Linked DNA regions of Homo sapiens: region 1 is linked to region 2. The links are contacts of gene promoters, found by promoter capture Hi-C in blood cells and fetal thymus (Javierre and others, 2016). All regions are on one chromosome and are shown on one strand. The core of a region is centred on a gene start or on the middle of the fragment in contact, and the rest is flanking DNA. Distances in the headings are between cores, read along the strand shown.

Region 1 (3,842 bases), core at 307-2,806, 320 kb before region 2:
TTACATTTCATAATCTACTCCTTTCTAGAAAATGGGAGTTGGTTTTTTTTTTTGGTTGTTTGTTGTTGTTGTTGTTGTTGTTGTTTTGATACAGAGTCTTGCTCTGTCCCCCAGGCTAGAGTGCAGTGGCACGATCTCAGCTCACCGCAACCTCTGCCTCACGGGTTCAAGCGATTCTCCTGCCTCAGCCTCCCGAGTAGCTGGGATTACAGCTGTATGCCACCACACCTGGCTAATTTTTGTATTTTTAGTAGAGACGGGGTTTTGCCATGTTGACCAGGTTGGTCTTGAACTCCTGACCTCAGGTGATCCACCTGCCTTGGCCTCCCAAAGTGCTGGGATTATAGGCATAAGCCACCGCGCCGGGCCAAGGAAGTTGGTTTTAAAGAAATGACTTTATAAAGGCTGGGTGTGGTGGTTCACGCCTGTAATCTCAACATTTTGAGAAGCCAAGGTGGAAGGTTTGCTTGAGACCAAGAGTTCAAGACCAGCCTGGGCAACATGGTGAGACCCCCATCTCTACAAAAAATGTTGTGTTTTTTGTTTTTTTCAAACAGAGTCTCGTTCTGTTGCCCAGGCTGGAATGCGGTGGCATGATCTCGGCTCACTGCAACCCCCGCCTCCTGGGTTCAAGCGATTCTCCTGCCTCAGCCTCCTGAGTAGCTGGGATTACAGGAACGCGCCACCACGCCTGGCTAATTTTTGTGTTTTTGGTAGAGACAGGGTCGCGCCGTGTTGGCCAGGCTGGTCTCAAACTCCTGACCTCAGGTGATGTGGCCGCCTCGGCCTCCTCAAGTGTATAAATCATAGCAGTATTATTATATTGACTTAAGAGACTTATATTTTTGGATTAAGAGAATTTGTTCTTTCCTGTTTGTGAGTGGTTTGAGGCCAGGAAGGTGGGAGGAAGAATCTTAAGGCAAAGAATTGGTTGTTACCAGCTGTCACTAAGGAAATTATGTGTACAGTTAAAAAGACTAGTTTTGACCTCACATGCTGGATGTCTTTTCTCTTTCCCATTCTCTTGCTATTTGGTTTTTCAAGTGGGGGGAAAAAAATGCTAAGGGGAATTTTTCTCCTTGTTTTTCTTTCTTTTTTTTCTTTTTTTTTTTTTTCCTGGTAGATCACTTGTGTTAAAGGTTAATTTATTCCAGACTTATGTGATAGAAGCTTCTGTTTGTCAAATCCTAATATTAGTTTTGTTCTACTTTTGTTCAATTTAATATTCAAAGCCACTCTTTAAATCCTAATGATTAGTCTTGTTCTACTTTTGTTCAGTTTAATATTCAAAGCCACTCTTATTCTTGAAGAGCCTGATGCCATTATCAAATCTGTTCACAAAGTTGGGCCTCATCTTTGAAGATCAGTGATTTTGACTATCATTTTCCTGTTTTATATTACCTTCCCCCCCACCTTTTACTGCTCCATGCATAGCAGGGCTACACTATAGGCAGTGTGTCCAGAGTAGCCTCATATTACCTTTTATTTTGGTTAGGTTATTTGAAATTCTAGTTAAAATATTTAATTTTGACATTGGTTTCATATCAGTTGTGTCCTTGTATTCTCTCAAATTGTATATTTGAAGATCCTGAGTTCTAGCACGCTTTTTAAAGAGAACTACAATCTATAACTTCAGTTTGCAAATTTTTGTTTGTGGCTTCTGTGATGAAGGCATATATGGTAAGAATCAGTTTTTTATAGATCATTTTTGTGTGTGTGCCTAGAACTGAAGTTTATTCCCATAAGATGTTTGAAATTCAATTTTTAAAGTGTTCTTGTGGGTTGAGAAATATATTTAATCCATCAAGCAGAGATCGTGTTCTGTGTGAGAAGTGAAAAGGTTACCACAATTTTAACCACAAAGAATTCAGTGCTTCTAAAGAGCTAAAAGCCTTTACAGACCCACAGATCAGATTTGGCATGCAAATTTTTGTAAAGCTTTTTTCTAAATGGGGAAAAGTTTTGTATTTCCTCCTTAGCTTTCTACAGAGAAAGTACTTCTGAAAATAAAAGAATAATTCTCATCAAAAATCATCTTGAAGTAATTAATGTTTACCATCAAATATAAGAGCTATGTAACATTTTAATAGACATTATTTTACTAGTAGTGGTTATATAAAACCTATTGCTTTTTAAACTATGTAACAGTGAAGTAAATAATTTAAGGATTTAACCCAATATCAGTGCCAAATTTAACATTCTTGTCTGCTATATTTTATTTATTTGTGTTTTTTCTAGGAACATTATAAGTATTTTACCCAAACCACACTAATCCACCATTATTTGTATGCTTTTTACCTAGCCCAATGCCTGGCACTAACAGGTATTCAGTAAATATTCTTTGACGTGTCTTTGGTTTGGCCAAATGGATTTTTTAAATCAAAAGTCGTCTAACATAGAGTGATCTCTTTTACTGTAAGAAAGATACATGTATTATGTATGAATTAGTAAGGTTGTCATCTCCTGTTTTTCAGGGTCCTCATTCTCCATTTGAAACGATATAGCTTCAATGTGGCTCTCTCGCTTAACAATAAGATTGGGCAGCAAGTCATCATTCCAAGATACCTGACCCTGTCATCTCATTGCACTGAAAATACAAAACCACCTTTTACCCTTGGTTGGAGTGCACATATGGCAATGTAAGTCCTTGAGAGACTATGTCTTTATATTCCCTTTTGAAATAGAAAGGCTTTAGTATCTAATCAAAAGAATGACTGAATTACATAATATGACTCCAAGGTAAAATCAGATCAATGGCCAGATGCAGTGGCTCATGCCTGTAATCCCAGCACTTTGGGAGGCTGAGGCAGGAGAATCGCTTGAGCCTAGGAGTTTGAAACCACCTATGGCAACAGAGCATGACCTCATCTCTACAAAAAATAAAATAATAAAGCCAGCATGGTGGCACACACCTGTAGTGCCAGCTACTCGAGGCTGAGGTGGGAGGATTGCTGGAGCCTGGGAGATGAAGGCTGCAGTGAATGGTGATCAGAGCAAGACCCTATCTCAAAAAAAAAAAAAAAAAGAAAAGAAAAGAAAAGAAATCAGACCAAGAAGGAGATTTTAATTTTGCTTTACTTTGTTTTAGTGTTAAATCACTGCCTGAAGTAATTGAAGAAAATGCTTAAAATTTTTCCAAAGTTATTAGTTGCTTTTCATAGTGAGGTGCTTTTTTAGGAAGTGCTCTTGGTTAGAGTGCTAGAAGACAGTTTGATATACTTCTTGAATATGAGTCAAACTTAGGTGATAATAAGAGTCACCTAGACACTAAAAATACTGATTTTTGTGTTTTTTCCCTGGAAGTTCTGTTTCAGTAGGTCTGAGATAGGCGCTTAGGAATCAATATTTTTAGCAAATGCTTCAGTTGACTCTTCAGGACATGCAGATGTGAGAAACCCTATACTCAATGTTATGCCTTCATGCATATATTATCAGCAGTGTAAAGAACTTAAATGGCTCCTGAAATTTCTCAAGAAAAAAAGAAGTAATCTTTACTTTAGGTTTTTGCTTCATCATGTATGCTGGGAAAACCTTCGGACTTCTTTGAGTGTTCCCCTTTTTTCTACATACTTGCATTACTTTGAAGCCATATGTTATGTCATTCTTTTCTATACTTGAACACTAGTTTGGTAGAATAATAAAATTGTAGAACTTTGAAGATGGAAGAGATTTTAGAGGTTTTTGTCCAAACCCTTAAGAGGACCAAGGAAATTAAATGATTTTCCTAAAGTCATACAGTTAGTGTCTGAAAGAGCCACGTCTCATAGAAGTTTACACTAGTGTCTCAAGGGTCTACTAATAAAGGCATGTGCCCAGAGAGTCTAAGTGTTTCTGGTTTTTTC
Region 2 (4,182 bases), core at 209-2,708:
GCAACACAGTGAGAGCCTGTCTCTTAAAAAAAGAAAAAAATTCTTTCCAGTGCAGAACTGTAGGAATCCATGGCATGGTAAATTTGGCATTTGTGGTAGGGCAGGATTTATACTTGCACAGACTGGCATTAGCTCCAAACATTAGAGGAAGGTTGGAAAGAAGCAATGCCAGGCAGACCAACTGGGCTGTGTGGAAGTGAAGCTATCAGGCATACCAGTGACTTTAGTGTGTAGCCAAAAGCAATAGACACTGAATCGTGGTGGTGACTTATGGTCCATGAATCACAGGAGAAATGTCTCCCTTCATTTATTCCACAACCATTGATTGAGCACCTACTATATTCCCTGAAAGAGAACATAAACATGAATTGAAGAAGGTTCTTGCTGTCTCATGGCTCCCAAGCTAGAAGAGGGCTGACTTGTAAATGCCTCACAGCAGGGTTCATGTTATATGGAGAAGTGACGAAGGTGCCAGAAGACTCAAGCTAGGGGACAGCCATTAGCTGCTGGAGGCAGCTAAGGTGGGTTCCCAGAGAAGCCATTCTCCGTTACTGAGATGGGGGCTGCAGTGACCTTGACCACAGCTCTTCCATTCATGGACTGCCCCAGCTCTGTGGTCTCTCTGCTAACCAGCCAGACTCTGGGAGTGGCCTATGCCGTCAGCCTCAGGGCCATTTAAACCAACTGGTCATTGGCAGTGATTGTGCGAAAGAGTGGCTGGCGGCAAAGGAGGGTTTGTGTTCCATTCAAATACCCTCAAAAAGCCTGAAAAATAAGTAGAGATTGAGGCCAGGCCTTGGAGTTGTGGAAGGTGGAGAACACTGGGAAGCCAACCTCCAAAGAAGACCAGGTTGGAGGCAAAGGAGGAAGGGGAGCTCTCGTTGGCAAACCAACAGGGAAGCCAAGGATATCCCAGTAACTGCTCTCACATCCTTGATGAGAATGCCTTGAATCCGAGCTAGGCCACCTCAAAGAAGCCTGCAAAATAAGTAGAGATTGAGTGCCTGCTGTTCAAACACAACTCAAGCGCAGTCCTCCTCCTCTTTCCCACTGGATTGCCCCCAAGTCCCTCCTATGGGGGACTCCTTCTGAAGTCTCTGCTGTAAGTCAAATCCTTCGCCCTTTATACTTGGTCAGGAAGTTGCAAGCTTCCACAGGTGATATACTAGGGAATTTAGGAATAAACAAATGGAAATAAATTCAAGAAAAGGAAAATAATAAAAATGATCATCCATAGAGTGGAGAATTCAGATAATGGACCCTCAACCCCAGCTTCACACCTGGGACCCCCACTTGGTCATATGGACCCTGGCAGTCTCTAATCACAAGTCTGTGATCCCTTGACTTAAACTGTTCTTCCCCAAATGTAGACATGGGTGGGGCTCAGAAGGGAGGTGTCATCTGATGTGGTTTCCTTATTTCCGTTTATTCATCAAGTGCCCTCTAGCTGTTAAGTCACTCTGATCTCTGACTGCAGCTCCTACTGTTGGACACACCTGGCCGGTGCTTCAGGTAGGAAGCCACCTCTGTTTGCTAGGACTTTCTGTGGGGTAGGGCTGCTTGGCTTGACTTTATTTTGGAAAATGTATTCATTTCTGTGGGAGCTGAGGATTTCTGCTGCCCGCTTCCTCTCTTGTGACCACCACTCATACATGGAGTTAGCAGGTGAAGAGGACAGCCTCCTCATCCCCTCTTTTTATACCTTGCCCTTTTGTGGGAAGAGGCTGACCATTCCCCAATTTGATGTTTATTGCTTCACCTTAAGACTTTGTCTTCAGTGAAAATGCAAATACTGGTAGGGAGGGAACACACTAAAATGTGTGGATCTGAGTGGACTCATCATACACCCTCAGGCCTGGCAGCAAATGAGAGGTGGATGATTCTGTCTTCCTCGATTTGCAGATGAGAAGACTGAAATCTATAGGGGTACGAGACCCCACTCAAGGTCATGAGACTTATTTATTTATTTATTTATTTATTTTGAGATGGAGTCTCACTCTGTCGCCTAGGCTGTAGTACTGTGGCACGATCTCGGCTCACTGCAACCTCCATTTCCCGGGTTCAAGTGATTCTCCTGCCTCAGCCTCCTGAGTAGTTGGGATTACAGGTGCACGCCACCACACCCAGCTAATTTTTTTGTATTTTTAGTAGAGACGGGGTTTCATCATTTTGGTCAGGCTGGTCTCGAACTCCTGACTTCATGATCTGCCTGCCTTGGCCTCCCAAAGGGCTGGGATTACACACGAAACTTATTAATGGTAGAATCAGGATGGAATGAAGACTGGATGCTAGGTGTCTTTACAACCAACCTCGGTGACTTTCCAAAGGCTTTCAGACTTCTCTGGAGAGTCCTGGAGCTTTGAGGGGCTCTTTAGGGGCCATCTGGGTTCGGAGATTAGCACACTCTGCCCCACAGTGGCTCAGCTTTTATCTGCTTCACATACTGGGCTTCTGGGAAGATCTTATTTCAGTAAACTATTTCACAATAGGAAATATATTTGAAAACTCTTGAATGATTCTGTGGATTTTTTCAGGGGTGGAGGGTTTCAGGGACCAAGATGGAGACTTTATCTTCTCAAATACTTAAAACTCCTTTAGACAGAGGAACAAAATATGTGCTCCTCATTTAAAGAAGGCTTAAAATATACAGTTTAATGCAATGTGTTGTTATCACTTCCTTCCCCCAGTAGATTTTAAGGAGGGTAAACAAGAATCAGGGAGAACATAGGAATAGAAATAGTAGAAGGGGACACCTGGGAACAGGTTTGCCTTCTTGCATTTTGCTTAATGCTGGCCCTTCCCTGAATGTCTAAGACCAACCTGGTCCCCACATCCAAATGCACAGACACAGCTGAGGATGGAGAAGGCTAAAGAGGGACAGAGGTAGAGACATAGGCTGAGAGGAGGCAGTTGTAGGTTGAGCTAGGGCTAAGGTGTTTTCCCCATATTCCATCTTACCCCACACTCAGGCCAGGCCTTAGAGTTGTGGAAGGTGGAGAACACTGGGAAGCCAACCTCCGAAGAAGACCAGGTTGGAGTCAAAGGAGGAAGGAGAGCTCTCATTGCCAAACCAACAGGGAAGCCAAGGATATCCCAGTAACTGCTCTCACATCATTGATGAGAATGCCTTGAATCCGAGCTACTAAATCACATTTCCTTCCTTCTAACCTTCCAGTTAGATCAAACCATTGCTGAAACTGAAGAGGACATGTCAAATATTACAGATCCACAGATGTGGGATTTTGATGATCTAAATTTCACTGGCATGCCACCTGCAGATGAAGATTACAGCCCCTGTATGCTAGAAACTGAGACACTCAACAAGTATGTTGTGATCATCGCCTATGCCCTAGTGTTCCTGCTGAGCCTGCTGGGAAACTCCCTGGTGATGCTGGTCATCTTATACAGCAGGGTCGGCCGCTCCGTCACTGATGTCTACCTGCTGAACCTGGCCTTGGCCGACCTACTCTTTGCCCTGACCTTGCCCATCTGGGCCGCCTCCAAGGTGAATGGCTGGATTTTTGGCACATTCCTGTGCAAGGTGGTCTCACTCCTGAAGGAAGTCAACTTCTACAGTGGCATCCTGCTGTTGGCCTGCATCAGTGTGGACCGTTACCTGGCCATTGTCCATGCCACACGCACACTGACCCAGAAGCGTCACTTGGTCAAGTTTGTTTGTCTTGGCTGCTGGGGACTGTCTATGAATCTGTCCCTGCCCTTCTTCCTTTTCCGCCAGGCTTACCATCCAAACAATTCCAGTCCAGTTTGCTATGAGGTCCTGGGAAATGACACAGCAAAATGGCGGATGGTGTTGCGGATCCTGCCTCACACCTTTGGCTTCATCGTGCCGCTGTTTGTCATGCTGTTCTGCTATGGATTCACCCTGCGTACACTGTTTAAGGCCCACATGGGGCAGAAGCACCGAGCCATGAGGGTCATCTTTGCTGTCGTCCTCATCTTCCTGCTTTGCTGGCTGCCCTACAACCTGGTCCTGCTGGCAGACACCCTCATGAGGACCCAGGTGATCCAGGAGAGCTGTGAGCGCCGCAACAACATCGGCCGGGCCCTGGATGCCACTGAGATTCTGGGATTTCTCCATAGCTGCCTCAACCCCATCATCTACGCCTTCATCGGCCAAAATTTTCGCCATGGATTCCTCAAGATCCTGGCTATGCATGGCCT

What was found. Contacts are between HindIII fragments. The CHiCAGO score rates a contact against its expected background, and 5 or more counts as called.
Region 1: a fragment that was not itself captured here is called in contact with the fragment with the promoter of CXCR1 in region 2 in 2 of 17 cell types (neutrophils and total CD8 T cells); the score reaches 5.3 in neutrophils.

Annotation. Positions count from the first base shown.
Region 1 is chr2:218,480,867-218,484,708 of GRCh38, reverse strand. USP37 (ubiquitin specific peptidase 37) reads left to right here. Exons shown (of 26, transcript NM_020935.3): 17 at 2,475-2,639. Among named protein-coding and RNA genes, the nearest start is that of VIL1, 64 kb to the right of the region's middle. The HindIII fragment of the contact is 768 bases long and covers 1,173-1,940 here.
Region 2 is chr2:218,164,238-218,168,419 of GRCh38, reverse strand. It overlaps CXCR1 (C-X-C motif chemokine receptor 1), which reads left to right and starts at 1,458. Exons shown (of 2, transcript NM_000634.3): 1 at 1,458-1,512; 2 at 3,176-4,182. The coding sequence starts at 3,209. The HindIII fragment of the contact is 3,933 bases long and covers 1,151-4,182 here.